Regions from separate parts of the Homo sapiens genome. Here regions 1, 2, 3, 4 and 5 are each linked to region 6. The links are contacts of gene promoters, found by promoter capture Hi-C in blood cells and fetal thymus (Javierre and others, 2016). All regions are on one chromosome and are shown on one strand. Each heading gives the region's core, a stretch centred on a gene start or on the middle of the fragment in contact. The rest is flanking DNA. Distances are from core to core; before and after follow the strand shown. Region 1 has its middle 120 kb from the start of TRD-GTC1-1. Region 2 overlaps SLC25A3 (solute carrier family 25 member 3). Region 3 has its middle 91 kb from the start of TRD-GTC1-1. Region 4 overlaps APAF1 (apoptotic peptidase activating factor 1). Region 5 overlaps LINC02453 (long intergenic non-protein coding RNA 2453). Region 6 holds the start of NEDD1 (NEDD1 gamma-tubulin ring complex targeting factor).

Evidence for each region. Contacts are between HindIII fragments. The CHiCAGO score rates a contact against its expected background, and 5 or more counts as called.
Region 1: a contact is called between a fragment that was not itself captured here and the fragment with the promoter of NEDD1 in region 6, in 2 of 17 cell types (M1 macrophages and M0 macrophages). The highest score is 7.5, in M1 macrophages.
Region 2: a fragment that was not itself captured here is called in contact with the fragment with the promoter of NEDD1 in region 6 in 1 of 17 cell types (total CD8 T cells); the score reaches 5.7 in total CD8 T cells.
Region 3: a fragment that was not itself captured here is called in contact with the fragment with the promoter of NEDD1 in region 6 in 2 of 17 cell types (total CD8 T cells and M2 macrophages); the score reaches 7.3 in total CD8 T cells.
Region 4: a contact is called between a fragment that was not itself captured here and the fragment with the promoter of NEDD1 in region 6, in 1 of 17 cell types (total CD4 T cells). The highest score is 5.2, in total CD4 T cells.
Region 5: a fragment that was not itself captured here is called in contact with the fragment with the promoter of NEDD1 in region 6 in 1 of 17 cell types (total CD8 T cells); the score reaches 5.7 in total CD8 T cells.

The regions. Positions count from the first base shown.
Region 1 is chr12:98,386,283-98,389,568 of GRCh38, reverse strand. No RefSeq gene overlaps it. Among named protein-coding and RNA genes, the nearest start is that of TRD-GTC1-1, 120 kb to the left of the region's middle. The HindIII fragment of the contact is 680 bases long and covers 1,042-1,721 here.
Region 2 is chr12:98,596,249-98,599,786 of GRCh38, reverse strand. SLC25A3 (solute carrier family 25 member 3) reads right to left here. Exons shown (of 8, transcript NM_002635.4): 4 at 1,752-1,931; 5 at 1,084-1,265. It overlaps SNORA53 (small nucleolar RNA, H/ACA box 53), which reads right to left and starts at 152; the gene lies at 1-152. The HindIII fragment of the contact is 1,282 bases long and covers 1,352-2,633 here.
Region 3 is chr12:98,410,698-98,413,934 of GRCh38, reverse strand. No RefSeq gene overlaps it. Among named protein-coding and RNA genes, the nearest start is that of TRD-GTC1-1, 91 kb to the left of the region's middle. The HindIII fragment of the contact is 2,004 bases long and covers 863-2,866 here.
Region 4 is chr12:98,649,901-98,653,203 of GRCh38, reverse strand. All of the region lies in intron 4 of APAF1 (apoptotic peptidase activating factor 1), which reads right to left. Among named protein-coding and RNA genes, the nearest start is that of APAF1, 6.3 kb to the right of the region's middle. RefSeq lists an enhancer at 2,642-3,303. The HindIII fragment of the contact is 2,616 bases long and covers 738-3,303 here.
Region 5 is chr12:98,487,413-98,490,861 of GRCh38, reverse strand. The region is part of intron 3 of LINC02453 (long intergenic non-protein coding RNA 2453); the gene reads left to right. Among named protein-coding and RNA genes, the nearest start is that of TRD-GTC1-1, 14 kb to the left of the region's middle. RefSeq lists a silencer at 37-331. The HindIII fragment of the contact is 2,579 bases long and covers 320-2,898 here.
Region 6 is chr12:96,905,437-96,908,831 of GRCh38, reverse strand. It overlaps NEDD1 (NEDD1 gamma-tubulin ring complex targeting factor), which reads right to left and starts at 1,575. Exons shown (of 16, transcript NM_152905.4): 1 at 1,532-1,575; 2 at 976-1,228. RefSeq lists enhancers at 753-892, 933-1,022 and a silencer at 1,263-1,542. The HindIII fragment of the contact is 8,934 bases long and covers 1-3,395 here.

The sequences.
Region 1 (3,286 bases), core at 132-2,631, 1.5 Mb before region 6:
GTAATAGTAATTATAATAAAGTTTAACTCAATTTTCTCAGCACTATGGTGCTGCTTCTGTGAATTCTTGGCTTTACAGTACAGGGTTCCATATTTATCGGGATTGAGGAAGGTATGTAGCCTGCCAAGTAAGCACCATCTGTATTTTATTTTTTGACATTTGAGAAGCACTGCAGATAGACCCAATCTCCATCCACTTCCCATCTCAGCTTCCTGGGTCACTGCCTGAACTCTCACATAGAAAGGTGACACGAAAAGCCGGTGGGGTTATTATTACCTCTATCCCATGCCTTATTGCCTCCATTAAAGAAAAATGGGTCTGAGATGGGATCCTTCGCCCAGGGATCTGAGGAGGCTAGCCTCAGGCCCAGGGGTCATTTTTTACCACAGTGAGCCTGATGCAGGGAGTTCTTAGAGGGAAAACTTGTTAGCCAGAGAATGAAATTCTATCTGGGGCTTCGCAGCTCTGTAATAACCCCTCTAGTGACCTCACCCAGATGCATAAGTCCACTGATGCAAGCTGGCCAGTTTGGCCTTCTCTTCTGTGTTGTAGGCAACGGCTTCGGGGAAGAAAAGAGGGCAAGGTGCACGGGAAGAAATGAGCTCAAAGGAGATTGTGCCAATTACTGCACCTGTCAGTGTTCAACAACAGATAAAATTAATTCGGAAACCCAAACAGTCTGCAGAAAACCGAACACAATTATCTAAGAAATTAAGTTATACCGTTGCCATGACCTTTAATCAATCATCCAACCGTTAATGTTAATTTTGTGATCTAAAAATCATAGTTCTATTTGCATTTTAATGGCTGCTAAATGAGTGTCATCAGGAAGAAATAATGGCAGGGTGGCCTTTTGCTACAAATTCTTCCTTCCTAATGGTGATGCACAAAGCGAGGAAACGGGTGTTTGGAAAAGGTTTTGTTTCACCTCCCAGCAGATGTATGGAGCTGCCCTTCTCAAATGAAAAAACAAGCAATTCCCCACAAATACCACCACCTGTTGTTATAAATAAATCCAAGCTGTAAAATGGAACGAAAGCTTAATGGCAAAATCATTATGCACCTCCCACCCCCTCCCGTCAACCCTTCATAATAGCCTCTTAACAACTTGTTCCTCAGTCGTGTACCTTTTTAAGTTTTCGACCGCCATCAGGTCCCAGCCCTAACCAAGAGAAATGGCCTGTGGATTTGTGGCTAAAAATAAAAAGTTACCAACCTCGGGGAAAATGATCACACGTCCATTTGCACGGTTTAAGTGGCTAGAAACTGGCTACGTGCCACTCTACACTTAGGGTTCCCTTTAATTCTTAATCCAGACATCCAGTGGCTTATTTTACAGCTAATGAACCTAACCTTCAGGTGGGAGCATAAAATCCTAATTAAATCCGGGCATCATGAGGTTATTGGCAGGCTGTCTATAATTCGGCAGAATCTTGATTCTGTGAGTAGCGATAGGAAAATTATAAAACATTTGAATTGGAATGTTTTATCCTTTAATTATCCTCTTACCCATCTCCAAACTCTATTTCCCGACGGACTTTATCACTCTATCTATAAATATTGATTGTTTAGCAGGCCCGGGATATTACACTTATTAAAAATATTGCATTCCTCACCTGAAACTCAGCTTCTTTCCTTAAATCTCCTGTGAGAAGACTTAGATGAATTATTTCTTCTGATGAAAGAGGTCTTAACATTATAAATTGGGGGAGAAAAAAGCTTTAAAAATAAAGAGCTTCAGAGATTTTTTCTGAGTACAGGACACTCAAATAAGGAAGGGAGGGTAAAATATTAGAGATGGATGCTAACTTATTTTTTTCCTGCAAAGAAAAGGTGGGGGGTGGGTAATGTTCCTGCAAAGATTGCAAAACTCCATTTCATAAAAGATTTATTAGCAATGACAGAGGGAGATTGCTGAGTGGAACTCTGATAAATGCCTCGGCTTTTTTTCCCTGCTTTAAAATTATGGGTTCTGTCCATAAAGTACTGATTAATTCATATTCACTCAATGACATACCCTTTTTTTTTCCTCCCCCAAGCAAAGATTGTAAGCATTTTACTTCAACAAACAGTACTCTGGGTGGGATGCATACTAATTCATTTAGCACTGGAACTCGCACCACAACTTATGCAGCTAATCACAGCAAAGCAGGAAAGAATCTTTTCTTTTACTGTGACAAGACCTGCCTACCTTTCAGCGTTTTTCCCCCTAAGGTATTATTAATCTCAAAACTTTACAAAATTGAAGACTTATCTAAGATCCTTCAAAACAGAATAGCGTCATATGTAGCAACTCCCCAAGAGAGAAAATTCTTTGCTTTTCTAAAAGACTGACTGCAGCAATTGGGAGTCCTTTCTTGTTTTAAAAAAATCCAGATAAGTAACTGGAATGTGTTCTAAATTTTCAGATTTAAAAATACAGTATTTATTTTGGAATACTGGAAGGTTCCGGAAGAGAAAAAATGGCAAAGGACCTGGAGGGAGGAGAGTAGATGTTCGGCCACAGATCAGGAGCCAGTGGTGGCCATTCCCTGAGGTTTACCTGGGAGAAACACGAGGGTAGTAAAACAAGATGGCCAGACCTCCCTGCTTCCGAAGGTTACCTTCGTGCAGAGAGTCAGCAAGCATTTTTCCTTTTTTTCTTTTTTTTTTTTTTCTTGAGACAGAGTCTCGGTTTGTCTCCCAGGCTGGAGTGCAGTGGCGTGACCTCGGCTCACTGCAATCTCTGCCTCCTGGGTTCAAATGATTCTCCTGCCTCAGCCTCCTGAGTAGCTGGGATTACAGGTGCCTGCCACCACGCCCGGCTAATTTTTGTATTTTTAGTAGAGACAGGGTTTCACCATGTTGTCCAGGCTGGTCTTGAACTCCTGACCTCAGGTGATCTGCCCGCCTGGGCCTCCCAAAGTGCTGGTATTACAGGCGTGAGTCACTGAGCCTGGCCACATTTTTCAATTTTAATAAAGTTTTAAAATAAGAACAAAAATACATTTAAAATATTGGAAAATATAGTGAATTACTAGCAAAAGAATGATTTTACCAGCTAGTACTGTGCTAGACATAAATCTGGATTAGTAAGAAATTTTCCACAAAAAAGGATCTCTTTAATTCTGGTTTGGGAAACAGGGGACTGTAACCTCCATGAGGGCAGGTACCATGTCTATCTGATACTCACATGGCCCCGTGCTTGGCATACGGTAGATGCTCATATATATTTGTTGAGGGAATGAAGTTCTAAATAAATATTAAACAACAGTGTATGTCCAAATTTGATTTTGGATAACTTTGA
Region 2 (3,538 bases), core at 743-3,242, 1.7 Mb before region 6:
TCTTACATGCCAATGACTCAAGCACCTTTGACTATACAACCAAAAAAGTTGCTGGATGTTTCTTTGACTACTGGAACCACAAGAAACAAGAAGTTTACAAGTGGAACTCAGTTCAAGATTCATCCACAAAGGTGGATCTAAGGAAGCATGTTGTGGTCATGGAAATTCTTAACTGTGAATAGATCACAAGGATACTAACAAGCCCTCCCTAAAAGTTAATAGTAAATGTTTAGGCCAAACATCAAGTCATTTGTAGACCGACAAATGGTCCTTACTCTAGGGAAAAAAAAAAAACTCAGTCCAGGGCTCAAACCATGTATTAACTTATCTTTACCTCTCAAGTTTATGTTCTACATACAGGTAAATAGACATTAAATGTTATAATAGTCTTTTTAAAAAGTCTGGTAGGCTTAATACTAAAAAATGAAGTTCACAGCCAGACGCGGTGTCTCACGCCTGTAATCCCAGCACTTTGGGAGGCCGAGGCGGGTGGATCACCTGAGGTCAGGAGTTCGAGACCAGCCTGACCAACATGGAGTCTCTACTAAAAATACAAAATTAGCCAGGCGTGGTGGTGCATGCCTGTAATCCCAGCTATTCAGCAGGCTGAGGCAGGACAATCACTTGAACCTGGGAGGCGGAGGTTGCAGTGAGCTGAGATAGTGCCATTGCACTCCAGCCTGGACAACAAGAGCAAAACTCCGTCTCAAAGAAAAAAAAAAAAGAAGCCGGGTGCGGTGGCTCACACCTGTAATCCCAGCATTTTGGGAGGCCAAGGTGGGCGGATCATGAGGTCAGGAGATGGAGACGGTGAAACTCCGTCTATACTGAAAAATACAAAAAATTAGCTGGGCGCAGTGGCAGGCGCCTGTAGTCCCAGCTACTTGGGAGGCTGAGGCAGGAGAATGGCGTGAACCCGGGAGGCGGAGCTTGCAGTGAGCCGAGATCACGCCACTGCACTCCAGCCTGGGTGACAGAGCGAGACTTTGTCTCAAAAAAACAAAACAAAAAAAAAAACAAAAAAAAATGAAGTTCACTTAAAATAAGTACTTTCATAGTATAAATTTTTAAGTGTTTACTTACGCTTTTAGGCCTTCTTCCTTATACATTTTGGGAGCTGCATCCCTCAAAGTGTTGGCATAACCTGGCTGGGTTTGAATTCGAACCTTAGCAGCTTCCATAGGAGCCAGGGCAATGTCAGCAAAGAATTCAGCACTGGCAGAGGCAGCCAAATATAGTGATGTGCGCCAGAGATAAGTATTCTCCTAAAATCCAAAACACAAGGAAGGGATGTGAATTGCTGTTGTGTTGGTTTTCAATTGAAGTGACAGTTCTAGAAAACAACTAAGCTTCAGACATTTTATAAAGTAACACACGATGATATGGAATATATATGTGGTCTCATAACCTCATTAACAAAACACGTAACTATGTGAACAACATGAATATTCAAAAAATATCTAGATGCCATGCCCCGGAACTACGCAAAGGAGTCCCAGAGCCCTTCTCTAAAAAACTCAAAATCCAACTTACTTAGAAAACAAGATAGTATATTAAAAGGAGAATTGTAATTTAATGAAATACATTTATCAACCTGTCTCTGCTGACACAGGCATACGATTTAAAACAAGTTGCTCACTTTGTAGGACCATTTTCTTCAGTGCTAAAATAAGGCAAGACAGACAAAAATCTAAGAACACTCGGAAAGTCTTAAACACTCGGAACATTCAATTTTAAAGTTAATTACATACCTCTCCAAGCATATTGCTATACAAGACTTTAAAGACTTCATAAAAGCCAAACTTGCAGAGTCCCTGCATGGAGTAGCCAAGGAAAGTCGGAGCCCATCCTTTAGCCAAACCACGAACACCATCCTCTTTAAGTGTAACTGAGAATCCGTTAAATATGCCCTTGTACTTTTGGGGGTCCACCTTTATTTAAAACAAGAAAAAAAAAATTAAATGCACCAAACAGCTAACATAAAAATTTAATCTCATGATTATTTTTGTTTGGGTTCCATAATAAATTTCAGCAACTACACAAAAGGTAACTACAGTAATTCCTGCCAGGCACGGTGGCTCACATCTGTAATCCCAGCACTTTGGGAGGCTGAGGCAGGTGGATTACCTGAGCTCAGGAGTTCAAGACCAGCCTGGGCAACACAGTGAAACCCCATCTCTACTAAAATACAAAAAATTGGACGGGCATGGTGGCGTGCACCTGTAATCCCAGCTACTCGGGAGGGTGAGGGTGAGACAGAACAATCGCTTGAGCCTGAGGGAGGGAGGTGGAGGTTGCAGTGAGCCACGATGGCACCACTACACTCCAGCCTGGGCAGCAGAGCAAGACTCCATCTCAAAAAAAAAAAAAGAAATACAGTAGCTCTCCCTTATCCAAGAGTTCATTTTCTGTGGCTTCAGTTATCCAAGGTCAACTGACATCTGAAAATATTAAGATATTTTGAGTGAGGAACTACATTCATATAACTTTTATTAGTTTATGCTTATCACTGTTTATTATTGTTCATTTGATTACTTTTATAAATAGAAACTGTTGTACATTAAGGTCTAGCTTTCTGTGTCAAACCTAAGTCTTGGAGTGATAGTTAAGAGGGTAAAATTTCAACAAAAGCTTTCTGTGTCAAACTTAAGTCTTGGAGTGATAGTTAAGAGGGTAAAATTTCAACAAAAATACGTAACAAAACTGATTCTTAACAGATTTCTTACCACCCAACTCCTACTACTTTTTTTGTGTTTTTTGTTTGTTTGTTTTTTGAGTCTTGCTCTGTAGCCCAGGATGGAGTGCCATGGTGTGATCTCAGCTCACTGCAACCTCCACCTCCCAGGTTCAAGCGATTCTCCTGCCTCAGCCTCCCGAGTAGCTGCGACTACAGGCACGCCACCATGCCCAGCTAATTTTTGTATTTTTAGCAGAGATGAGGTTTCACCATGTTGGCTAGATTGAGTTCTGATCTCGAACTCCTGACCTCAAGTGACCCACCTGCTTCGGCTACCCAAAATGCTGGCATTCCAGGTGTGGGCGACCATGCTTGGCCCACCTCCTACTTTTTAAAAGCTACTGTCTAGATAATAGATATAACTGTATTCCTAACATATGCTAGTTCTTTAAGTAGCTTATAGCATAAAGTTTTGTGAACACTAAACAAACTAAACACAAGTTAAAAAAAAAAAGCACATAAACTAAATTCACTTCAAGAGACATGCATAACACGTTTTAGCAAAGGTACATTTCATATCCATTACATTAACTAATGGGGGGGGAGGAAAAGCTTATCTATTTCTGCCAGTACTAGAAGGGATGGTATACATCACCTTCCTCTCCCTCCTAATATTTCAAATTCATTTCTCTTTTAGGTAAGTAGACTTCTAATCCAGTTTGGAACAAATAAATTTTCGATGTCTTGTTTTTGTTTCAATGATCTTAATTAAAATATATTCAAATTATTTTAAAATGTTGTGTAAATAAACAAGAGGCTAATCTGACAAAATTTTCATACTAAGATATTAAGAGCACTTTA
Region 3 (3,237 bases), core at 615-3,114, 1.5 Mb before region 6:
TCATACAGTAATTACAAGGTCTAACAACACTGTTCCCAAGACTGAATCATTAATCACCATTTCCGATGATGTTGACAACCGTAATGAGAAAACACATACCAATGCATTCTAGGTCAATTTCAAGCTCTGTTATAAGAGGTATGGAGAGAAATCGATGGTATATTATTTTCCTGATTCTGAGTCGACATTTCAAACAGCACAGTGTGAAAATATAAAGACAGTGCCCTTTTAAAGGTCAACAGTGATTTCCATTACAATCCCTGATTTATCATTCAGCCCAGAAGATTTATTCTAGGCTGGGATGTAACCTAAGAGTTTGTTCTACACAAGGGAAAAGCAAAGTAGAAAAAAAAAAGCAAAACTACATAGTGGTTTTAAGGGCCTTTCTCCCCCTTTACGTTTTCTCCTTCGAGTTCAAAAGGAAGGCACCTGAAAAGACCACATCTTCAAACATTTACATTTGGATTTTTCTCTCTGTTTTATCCAAGTGATAAAATTATTTTTAACCCCTCCATAGAAGCTCTGCACCCTCCTCGTAGGCTGGAAGATCTGGGGAAAATGCCTCTCCTTATGGCATCTTGAAGAAGTATTTTTGAAGAATGTTAAGGGTGTCTTCCTTGCTCTTCTCCCGTCTTCCTCTATCTTGCTTTGCCAGCCAGAGAGAACTGCTGTCAGAGAATTCCTCAGGATCTTTGACCATCCAGGAAAAGAACAACTTCAGACAGAGGATCTTGAATATTTAAGAAAGGGCTATTCTGTGTGGCCTCTGCTGACCAAGGCAAGGTTCCTACTACCTTCACCAGAAGCTCAGTGGCTTGGGAGTGATTTGGGCCAAATCAGGGAGCAAGCTGGCTGGGAAGCTTTAGAGCAAGCCACACAACCAAAGATAGATCAATGAAAGTGATAGAAAGCATTATTTCCTAGGGTTTTTATTTTTTTTCATAGTTATATTACTGGCCAATAGTATTGTGCATTCCAATAATGATGAAAAAAGGCTAAATTATTTAGGCTGCCTGAACCTCTGTTTATTTTGTTGACATGAGAGTGATGTTTTCTCCTGTAATCATTAACATTGGCCTGGTGGGCTTAATGCACTTGGCCAAATTCAGGCTCTCTACAGACAGCATCTGAAAATAGGTGTATCTGAAGTCAAGGCAAGGTGGGGGTGGGAGAAAGGAAACTCCAGTCTTGATGTTTTATTCCACTGGAGAGACTGGGAGCCCCATTAGTTTACTGGTCTCTTGGTTTCCTCCCTCCCTCTGTCTGTGGGAGGTGAAGTGCTGCCTCTGATCAGCCAGCATGGACTCACGAACTGTGCATTTGGGACCCACATCTTGCTGCCCTTGTTCTTGGGATGAGCTGTCCAGGAAACCTGTGTTCTCCTCTGCTCTCCTACTCCATAATTTTTAAGGAAAAAATTAGCTCCCCTACCCTCAAACAGAGAGAGACTGCTGAGATTTGAGGTCGAGTTTATACAATTCTGAGATTGAGTATGATGGGGCCACTTACCAAGTTTTTTGATTTCAGCTTGATTAAAGGTAAAATTTTGATCCTCTAACTACAGCCCCATTGCTTTACTACTCAATTTGTTCAGAAAGGAGAAGAGAGTGCTATTTATTGTGCCTCTTTAGGTTCCCCCAAAAGGCTGAAATTCTGATTTCCCTTAATCATCTTGGGAATTTAATACAAGTAGTTGATGGCATGGAGAGATTCTATAAGAGATTTGCTTCCATACTTGGTGGTTTCACTCATTTCCTGAATAATTTTTTTTTTTTTTTTTTTTTTTTTTTTTTAGATAGAGTAGGGATCTATCACCCAGGCTGGAGTGCAGTGGTGTGATCTCGGCTCACTGCAACCTACGCCTCCTGGGCTCAAGCAATCCTCCCATCTCAGCTTCCTGACTAGCTGGGACTGCAGGCACACACCACCATACCCAGCTAATTTTTGTGTTTTTTCAGAGATGTAATTTCACTGTGTTGCCTAGGCTGGTCTCGAACTCCTGAGCTCAAGCAATTCACCCACCTCTGCCTCCCAAAATGCTGGGATTACAGGTGTGAGCCACTGTGCCTGGCCCTGAACAAATATTTTTTGGACACCTACAGCGTACTGGGACTGTGCCTCAGCCATGATCAAGACAGACAAAATCAAGAACTTCTAGAGGAGAAAAATAGCAACAATAAGAGGAAATTGTTATAAATTGTGATTATTCCTGTGATGGAAATAAGAGAAGTGAAGAATAAGAGGCAGAGGGTGACTTTACATAGAATGAATCTGGTTAAAAGAAGTTCTCATCTTTGCACATACTACCATTAATTAAAATTGCTCATGATATTTGAATGGATACAAAACCAATAGTTAATAAACATAGTGATTCCTTGATATATACTATTAGAATTTTTAGTCTCCCCATAATTGGCATGTTTCTACTAGACTTTTTACGCATTGTCATACATTCATTTATTCAGTCAATGCATATTTTATGCCAGGAAATTTGCTAGGGGCTAAGGATACAGGGATGAATAAGACCTTCTTGCCACCTCAAGGAACAAACTATCTATTTAGGAGAACTAGTGACATAAATAAATATAATATAATATGATGAGATAAGCTGTCATGAAACAGAGTAGGGAGTGAAGGAGTGATCAGCTTGAGATAGAGAAGTTGGGGAATTTCAGGCAGAGGGGAATAAGCATCAAAAAACAACAAAAAGCATGACTTGTTTTTAAGTGGAGCAGGAGTGGGGGTGTGCTAAGGAGAGAGTATGGCCAAGGTACCAACGTTCTGGAAAACTAGAGCATTTTCAGCATTACTCAGAAACATAGGCCCAATTCACCTTTTGCTTTGAACTTGTCCTTAAATGGAAGCTTAATTATTATTTTCATTTTAAAGGCAAACAAACCAAATCTCAAATGGGTGAGGTGCCTCATCCAGGTCACACGTTTGATAAGGAGAACAGCCAGGTTAGAATGACCATGAATGTAAAATGATCTTACTGGTATTGCTGTTAGAGTATATAGAAAGTCAGGGTTTAGATAGGTTTTAAAAAATGTGTCCCACAAAGTACACATTCTTGTTTTGTGCAAAATTTCTGCAGAATCTTCAGAAAAATACACAAAATCCCATGAAACTTTGATGGTGGTTGTGGATTTATCTGTGCTTTCTAATAAAATTTTAATTTTGAGGAGGATTAATTCTCAGCTAAAACATGGCAGCCAAAATTTAATAGTGAAAAGGAGT
Region 4 (3,303 bases), core at 796-3,295, 1.7 Mb before region 6:
AGAATGGAAGTGAACTCCAGAGATTAAAATTTATCTTTGGGAAAGCACCTATTCTTGAATTAGTGGACATACAAAGGCAGACTCCAGAGAATAAAGAACTAAATATGAATAATAAGACTGTAATAGGACTACTTGAACAAAACTCAGGAAACACAAGTTAGAAGACAAAAAAAAAAACTGATTAGTTTGACTACATCAGAGTTCTCGTCTACTGAGAACACCCAGGAAAAAAATTAATCAGATGGCAAATTAAAATAAGGTATTTAAAAGTCTAAAACCAGCTGAGCACAGTGGCTCACGCCTGTAATACCAGCACTTTGGGAGGCGAGGCAGGGGGATCACCTGAGGTCGGGAGTTCGAGACCAGCCTGACCAACATGGAGAAACCCCGTCTCTACTAAAAATACAAAATTAGCCAGGCGTGGTGGTGGGTGCCTGTAATCCCAGCTACTCAGAAGGCTGAGGCAGGACAATCGCTTGAACCTGGGAAGCAGAGATTGTGGTGAGCCAAGATCGCGCCATGGCACTCCAGCCTGGGCAACAAGAGCGAAACTCCGTCTCAAAAAAAATAAAATAAAATAAAATAAAAGTCTAAAACCAACAAAGTTTAATGTCTAGAATATATAAGAAACTCCTAAAAAGCAAAAAGAAAAAAAAATTGGAAACCCCAATGGAAAATAGACAAATAATATAAACAAAATCCATAAAAAAAGAAACCCAAAAGGCTAACAACAAGCTTATGAAGAAATGTTCAAACTTGAGTTACCAGAGAAATGCAAAGTAAAAGACACAACTTTATAGAAGTTTGCCTGGCAAAAATTACAAAGCTGGATCATACCAACCGTCACTGCACAAGTAGAATTATCGGAGTCCCCATACTCATCTGGGGGAAATGTACAGACTGGAGGGGAATCAAATTTGGTATTTGTATATCCTATCATTTAGTAATTTTGGCTGGACATGGTGACTTTCATCTGTAACCCCAGCACTTTGGGAGGCCAAGGCGGGAGCATCACTTGAGCCCAGGAGTTTGAGACCAGCCTGGACAAGATAGCAAAAACCTGTCTCTACAAAAAAATGTTTAAAAACACACCAAGCATGGTGGCTTACACCTGCAATTCCAGCACTTTGGGAGGCCAAGGTGGGTGAATTGCTTGAGCTCAGGAGTTCGAGACCAACCTCGGTAACATGACAAAACCCCAACTCTACAAAAAATACAAAAATTAGCTGGGTGTGTCAGCATGCACCTGTGGTCCCAGCTACTCCGGAGGCTGAGGTGGGAAGATCACTTGAGCCCAGAAGGCAGAGGTTGCAGGGAGCCAAGATTGTGCCACTGCACTCCAGCCTGGGTGACAAAGCAAGACCCTGTTTCATAAATAAATAATTAGCCAGGCATGGTGGCGTGTGCACCCAGCTCCTCAGGAGGCTAAGGTGGGAGGATCACTTGAGCCTAAAAGTTTGAGGCTGCAGTGAGCTATGATATGGCCACTGCACTCAGCCTGGGCAACAGGGTGACACTCTGTCTCTTTAAAAAAAAACAAAAATAAATAAATAATTACTAATTTTGCTCCTAGCTACAAATACCCAAGAAATTCTTACTCACATAGAAGTTCAACCCAGCTTTGCTGCAGCAGCAGAGAGTTGGATACAATCTACATATCCATTTACTTAGGGTAATGAGCAGTAAAATGGGTTGGTGGCAATCAGGTGTAACAAATAACATGTATACATAGCAACAAGGATAAATCTTAAAAACATTGTGTCATGGGAGATAAAAAACAGAATAATACCATAACATCTATGCAAATTTAAAATACCTGCATACCAACAACATACATATTTTACAAGAGTACACACTTTACACAGACATTTACAAAGAACATACATTAAATACATTAGGATTGTCCATGGAGAGGGGAAAGGAAATAAGAATAGGAAATTTTGAAATGGAAATAAATAAATACAGTGAAAAGCTCAGCCTAGTACAGATCTACTATAATAAGCCGTGAACTAAGGAATATGAATAACTCAGTCCTCTGAACTTGAGATCCCACAAAAGTACGAGGAATATGAATTAAGCTCACATGTACAGTTGCCAGTATCTCTAGGATTTTCTCAAAACAAAGTAGTTAAAACCTGTTCCAAGATAACAATTTATACAATATGACTCCTGAATATTTAATTCCATAGATTGTTAGTCAATTTTAATCCCTAGAATTGAAAATTCATCACAATAATGTAGAGCAATTTAAATGGGGAGAGGGAGTGTTCTTTTAAACCTATAAATTGGAATATTATAAATACACAAAGAAAGTTCATAATATTGAAAGGAAAACTCATTCCTTCACACTAAAGGAACTTAAGCTAAATTTATCCTGAAATATCCTTAGTGATCAACTTTGCAGTAGGGGCTTAAAAAAATCCTTGGCTCTGAGACTTGAAAGGAGCTAAGTCTCAGGAAACTTCTCTGTAATGATAGAGGGGAAAAACCAAGGGTTAGGAATCAGGCATACTTCTGACAAGAGTATAGTCTATACCACTTACAAAGGCTATGAAATTAAACTGAGGCCATGTGTACACATAGATATACCCTAGCCTCCATATTTCTAAGTCTCTTAGAGGCTTACTACTTATTCCAATCATTCTGTCTAAACTGTCTTAACCGTAGATCATGTTATACATACATATCAAAAAAAAAAAAACAAAAAACTTTTTTTTGAGATGGAGTCTTGCTCTTGTTGACCAGGCTGGAGTGCAGTGGTGCGATCTCAGCTCACTGCAACCTCCGCCTCCTAGGTTCAAGTGATTCTCCTGCCTCAGCCTCCCGAGTAGCTGGGATTACAGGTGCTCACCACCACACCCAGCTGATTTTTTTTGTATTTTTGGTAGAGACGGGATTTCACCATGTTGCCCAGGCTGGTCTTGAACTCCTGACCTCAGGTGATCCACGCCTCAGCTGGGATTACAAGCATGAGCCACCGTGCCTGGCCTACTAAAAAAAAAATTATTAACTACTAGAAGTTGGGAACTGTCTTTGAATTCCCCTAGAAGTGTCATACAGAGAGAACACACTGATGAATGAGAACACACTGATGAATGGGGGCAGCCTAGAACTGATGGAGCTATACAACTATTCCTGATGAATACCCTGAGAACCTACCAGGATCGCTAAGGTCAGTGGTATACCTGCCAACATTTCTTAAACCCTCTTCTACCCAGTATGCCCTTCCCCACCCCAGTAACCACCCACTACCTTTCCCACCTTCCCTAGTCTCCCATCCCTACCTTCACTGCCTAGCTAACT
Region 5 (3,449 bases), core at 360-2,859, 1.6 Mb before region 6:
CTTACTACATATGTTGTTTTATAAATACAGCATAAACCAGTACTTTGTTATTTGTTTTAAAAATTTCTTTTAGAGACAGGGTCTTGCTCTGTCACCCAGGCGGGAGAGCAGTGGTGCAATCTTAGCTCACTGCAGCCTTGAATTCCTGGCCTCGGGTGATCCTCCATGCTTCCGCCTCCCAAAGGACTGGGTTTACAGGTGTGAGTCACTGTGCCTGGCCTAGAACTTTGGATTAATTGCAAATAAATTAGGTGAAAGAGAGGTCTGGATACCTAGGCTTTAGCTTGACTGAGGATAATGATTTCCGCAACTTTAAGCTTTACCATGTAGACCAAAAATAAAATTCTAAGCTCCCCAATCAGTTGAATGGATGCCTCCTTGTCCAGGGGCATTCCAAAGTTACCTGAAACGCTAGTTCATGTCATGATGGGAACAGGTGGTCAGACAAGCCTCATTATACTCTCCTCCCTTTGGGACAGAGTCCCTTTGGGATTCAGGCACATCTGACCAGCATTAACATAAGTCTGACAAAGAAGGCTTTTTGTAGCAGTAAGATACCAACATGACAGACAGCAGGCCCTGAAGTAAATTGAAGTAGTTTACCCCAAAAAATATATATATATTTTTGACACATTTTGAAATGGCCCTGCAAAGGTGTCTCTTGTGGGGAAAATCTACTTTCAGTAGAGAATCCCCTTCCCTTTCCAGATATTTTTCCTTAACCAGGAGAGAATTTACTGAGAGTCTTGCACCTTAAAAAGGTAAAAAATAAAATTTTTGGCTGGGCATGGTGACTCACGCCTATAATCCCAGCACTTTGGGAGGCCAAGGCAGGTGAATCACCTGAAGGTCAGGAGTTCGAGACCAGCCAGGCCAACATGGTGAAACCCCATCTCTGGCTAATACAAAAATTAGCCAGGCATGGGGTGGGGGTGTGGGCGCCTGTAATCCTAGCTACTTGGGAGGCTGAGGCAGGAGAATTACTTGAACCTGGGAGGTGGAGGTTGCAGTGAGCCGAGATCACACCATTGCACTCCAGCCTGGGCAACAAGAGCGAAACTTCGTCTCAAAAAATAAAATAAAATAAAATAAAATAAAAAAAATAAATAAAAATTAAAAGTTTTACAATCTGACCTGGTGCTGTGGCCCACTCCTGTAATCCCAGCACTTTGGGAAGCCGAGGCAGGTGGGTTGCTTGAGCCCAGGAGTTCGAGATAAGTCTGGGCAACACGGTGAAACCCTGTCTCTACTAAAAATACAAAAATTACCAGGACGTAGTGGCGCGCATCTGTAATCCCAGCTACTCCAGAGGCTGAGAGGTGCGAGGATGGCTTGAGCCTGGGAGGTTGAGGCTGCAGTTAGCTGAGATTGCACCACTGCACTCCAGCCTGGGTGATGGAGTGAGACCCAGAAATAATTACAATGTGTTCTTTCTGAAGCCTGCTACCTGGAGGCTTTATCTGCATAACAAGAACCTTGGTTTTCGCAACCCCTTATCTTAATTCAGGCACTCCCTTCTATAAATTTCAGGTCTTTAGATAAACTCTTTCAACTAACTCCCAATCAGAAAATCTTTGAATTCACTCATGATGTAGAAGCGCCCCATCCACCCTCACTGAACCAATGTACATCTTACATGTATTTTTTGATGTCTTCTGTCTCTCTAAAATGTGTAATAAAAAGCTGTAGTCCGACCACTTTGAGCACACGTTCTCAGGATTTCCTGGGGCTGTGTCACTGGCCATGGTCACTCATATTTGGCTCAGAATAAGTCTCTTCAAATATTTTACAGAGTTTGACTCTTTTCTTCATCGACAATCAATATGTGAGAGTTGATACTGAAGGTCCCTTTTGTCTATAATATACTTCATTCTATCGCATTTTTCACCAGACTGTTTTGTTTGGTTTTTATAGAGATGAGATCTCACTTTGTTGCCCAGCCTGGTCTCTTGGGCTTAGGAGATCCTCCCTCCTCAGCCTTCTAAAGTTCTGGGATTACATGTGCGAGCCCCCACCCTCAAACTGTGCCTTTTTTTTTTTTTTTTGAGCCCGAGTCTCACTCTGTCACCCAGGCTGGAGTATAGTGCCACGATCTCGGCTCACTGCAACCTCCACCTCCCGGGTTCAAGCATTTCTCCCTGCTTCAGCCTCCCGAGTAGCTGGGATTACAGGCGTCCGCCACCATGCCTGGCTGATTTTTTTTTTCTTTTTTTTTGTATTTTTAGTAGAGACAGGATTTCGCCATGTTGGCCAGACTGGTTTTGAACTCCAGACCTCAGGTGATCTGCCTGCCTCAGCCTTCCAAAGTGCTGGGATTGCAGGTGTGAGCCACTGCACCTGGCTAAACTGTGCTTTTTAAAATTGTATTTCCACTAAAAAAATGTAGATGTAAAATATTTTTGGTTTAAATACTTGATTGATAAGATCTCAGGCGTGGTGGCCCATGCCTGCAATCCCAGCACTTTGGGAGGCTGAGGCGGGTAGATCACCTGAGGTCAGGAGTTCGAGAGCAGCCTGGCCAACATGGTGAAACCCCATCTCTACTAAAAATACAAAATTAGCCTGGCATGGTGGCATGCGCCTGTAATCCCAGCTCGGGAGGCTGAGGCAGGAGAATTGCTTGAACCTGGGAGGTAGAGGTTGCAGTGAGCCGAGATCACACCATTGCACTCTAGCCTGGGCAACAAGAGTGAAACTCCATCTCAAAAAAAAACAACAACAAACAAACAAACAAAAAAACCTCAGGCATTACAGTTTTATTTGAATAGGCAATTCATGCACACAGAACAAAGTTCAAAAAGTACCAGATACCAGGAGGTATAAGGTATGGAGAGGAAAGTCTTTCTCCCATTTTTTCTTCTCTTTTCTTTCTTTTTTTTTTTTTTTTTGAGACAAGCTTCTTTCTGTCACCCAGGCTGGAGTGCAATGGCGTGATCCCAGCTTGTTGCAACCTCTGCCTCTCGGCTTCAAGCAGTTCTTCTGCCTCAGCCTCCAGAGTAGCTGGGATTATAGGCATGCCACCATGCCCGGGTAAGTTTTGTATTTTTTAGTAGAGACAGGGTTTCACTAGGTTGGCCAGACTGGTGTCGAACTCCTGGCCTCAAGTGATCTGCCTGCCTCGGCCTCCCAAAGTGCTGGAATTATAGGCATGAAACACATGCCCAACTTCTCTCCCATTTCTAACTCACAACAATTCTCTTGAGTGATGTTGGGGTTGGTCTGGCAGCTCAACAAGGCCATCATAGGCTTTGAGTACTCTCTTCTTGTTCTGGGTCTTTCTTCTCTGCTACCTTTAGCAAAAGGACATTTCTTTTCATGATTGTCACTTCATGTCTGCAAAGTAGCTGCTGCAGCCATCATGGCCAGTTTCAAGGCTGGAACATGAGGGAAGAGGCAGCTCCAGCACACTATACTTTTGAATGTCCCTTTTTACTGGGAGAAAGCCTTTC
Region 6 (3,395 bases), core at 326-2,825:
TCCTGGCACACAGCAGTTTCACAACAAATAACTACTAATAAGTAACTTCCTAATTTTTAAAAAAAGTATGATAAACTAGCATTTCTGCAGGTCAGAATCCAGTCACACCAGTTTTTCCAAAACTCTAAAATTAGCAATATGGTCAAATGAGACGCCACTAAGTCCCTATACCAATACTTGGACTACGATGCCTTCAATCATTTATTCAGAGCATACAGCTGAAACACGTAATTCTAACAAGGTGATTTCACAAACCAAGGAAGTCTAGAAAACAGAAGGCAAAGAAGCTGCTCTAGACAGGCACTTTAAAGAGCAACAGGTAGTAATGAACGATAAGTGAGAAAAAAAGATGCTCAAAAGTACATGGGAGAAAAGGAAAGGGAGAGGGCACAGAATTATACCTCCCACACCTTCCTAGTATGGAAAGTGCAAGACTACTGCACAGCATTAGTGATGTCACAGGCAGGTCCCCGAGTCACCAATACAACAGCACACCTACGTCTAGTATAAGCCATTTCAGAGGACAAGTTAAAGACAGAATTATAGAAACGTTTCATTCTCGAGACAAAAAGTTAATGTAATTCACTCATGTGCTTCCTTATGCTCCATTCATCCGATACAGTGCTACTAAAAGCCATTAAAGTCACCTGCAGAGATGTAACACAATGTTTGGATTTGGAGCCTTAAACATGTGTAACACGTGCCCCCTTGGTTCCCAAGTCAAGGAACAACTAATGAATTGCTGGAAAAGCGAGCTCTAAGCCCTGTAAACCACAACTGCAAGCTGTGTCTAACTGCATCGTAACCAGGCCTGGTGAGCTGCGGGGTGTAGTGGGTAGATCACTGAGGCCTGGGCTCAGAAAAACTGGGTTCAAACGACCTGCTCCAACTTAGGAAACACAACTCGCCGGGTGATTTAATGTTTGTTTTCGGCTCTTAAAGCGGGGCGGGGAAGAGGACCATCTGCCCACCTACCTCGGTCTTCTAAGAACTGAGCATTAAGGGAGAGACTTTACATGAGTCCCTCAAAGACGGTCCCGTCGAAAGCTAGCAGTCAGGACACAAGGCGGTAACGTCGGCCTGGGTTTAGGGACAGCGGCTACAGGAACCAATTCAACTACACCACTCAGCTGAAATGAAAGTTCTCCAACTTTCAATCACCAAAAATACACTTTACTTGCAGGACAACAGCTCAAGTGAGGCTAACCTGTAAAATGCATCCAAGTACCTGCCAAAAGAAAAGTACTTGAGGTTGACAAAAAAGGAGACAGACTTGTGGAGACGAGGCAAACTTTTCGGAGGCAGCACACCCCACAAGGCTCCGGGAGGTGCGCGACCCCGGCCCGCGCCTCCCCGGACACTTCCCAGCCCAGCGCGCCGCCGCGCCCCCGCCCAGCAACCGCTCCGGGCGCGCAAAGCCCAAGGACCGCCGCCCCGCCCTCTGAGGGGGACGGAGCGGGTCTTAGGATCGGGAGGGTGCGCGGACGCGGCGGGCGGGGGCCCGCTGACCTCAGGGCCTCCGGAACCTCACCTCTCCGCAGCAACACAACAGGGGGCCGCGGCCGGCTCCGCGCTGGGCTTCCGGCTCCCGCCTGGACTGTTAAACTTCGGCGGCCGGAAGTCCCGCCCCGAGTGACGTCACGGGGCGAGGCGCTGCGTGCGGCTGTGGCTTCTGGCCGGACAGAAGTCGGGGTACAGAGGGTCTGGTCAGGGCGGCGCTGGGCAGCCGCGGGGGAAGTTATCCCAGTGTCAGGGCGGGAACTGCGGGCCGGGGCGGCCCTCTCCACGCCCCAGCGACGGAGCTCCGGCCACTGCCAACTGCTTGTCATTCACTTGCTGTTTACTGTGTGCCAGGCACTGTGCTAGACTCTTGAGTGTACAGTGATGGTTTAGCCTGGGGATACAGGGGTACAGTGAATTCTCGTGGTCCTTGGCCTTGTGGAGCTTACAATGCACTATAGGAAGCTGACGTTATTAGATGCTTAAATGGAAAGTGAAACTATGATAATGAAAGGTATAAGATGCACGAAGACCCATAATAAGGGAAACTATTGTGGATGTGGATTTAGGAAAGGATTCCTACATGCGATTTACAAGCCAGGAAACGCGCTCAGGCTGAGAAATAACCCAAAGAGTAGGCGTCTGCACTAACCTACTTCAAAACCCATGATCTTTCTTTCGCATCATGCTGCGAGGTCCGGAACATCAAACATCATCTGTTTGGGAATTCTTTTGAAGGGGATACTTCAAGGTGGAAAAGGAAGTTGCTGAGCCGAGTTTTCAAGTGCCCCTTCCAAAGGTCCTTTTATAGCTCTACTGACAATTTTTGCTAAGAATATTTATCATAAATATAGAGCATTTCTTCTGCAAAAAGTGTTATTCTTTCATCACAACTACATGGGGTGTGTTTCTGAACTAGGTACATCAGCCCCAGTTATCTGCATTCATATTGCAGATAATTGGAAAATTCTAATAAGTGCATTTTTTCAGAGCAGAAATTGAAATCGTAGCCAAGTTACTGAGGTTCATGGGGGAGTGGCAAAAGGAGAAAGATAGCAAGCAGCAACTACCTTAATTGTACAGTCTGCAGTTCTTGAGGCTATGAAATCCAATTTGGGCAGGGAGGAGGCCCAGAAAGTTGGGAACTAAGAAAGTACGGTAAGGGAGTGGGGGCAGGGAGAATGGGAGCAAATGGAGAAAAGAAAACTTCAAACAAAAAGGGCAATTAATTAAATCTCTGAAAATTGAAGCCAGCAGGAAAATTGAGACTAGACTATATGAAAATATATATAATAATACATGTAATATAATATATACATATTATATGATATAATACTAGTTATACATATAAAAATAGATATTTATTGAACACTTTACTAAGCACTGTATTTGTGTATATAGACGTAATGTGTATGTATGCAATATATATATAATTTCATCTTTCTAAAAACACATGAAGTATGTGCTATTATTTGTCCCCATTTTACATATGAGGAAATAGAGGTTAAGTAACTTGTCCAAGGTTACAAGTTTAATAAATGGTAGATTCAGAAGTTAAACCTGGGACCATGAGACTGCAAAGACTGTCCCAGACCTTTATGCTATACAGTCAAGAGCCATAACACAGCGTATAGGGCCAAATGGAAACCTCCATTCCTCTGTCCTCACTGATGCTGCGGCCTCATCAAATCTTACTGGCCCTGAAACAGTCCTGTCATTTTTGTCCGTGCCTCTGTGCCTATGTATACACTGTTTCCTCAGTTCTGTATAATAGTTTAACGAACAATAGATGCCAAATGTTAGAAGCCTTGCTAATATATGAATTATATAAACATATACAGATTTCCAAAAGTAGCCATCACAACAAAGAATATTTCTAGAGACAAAGAGAAATA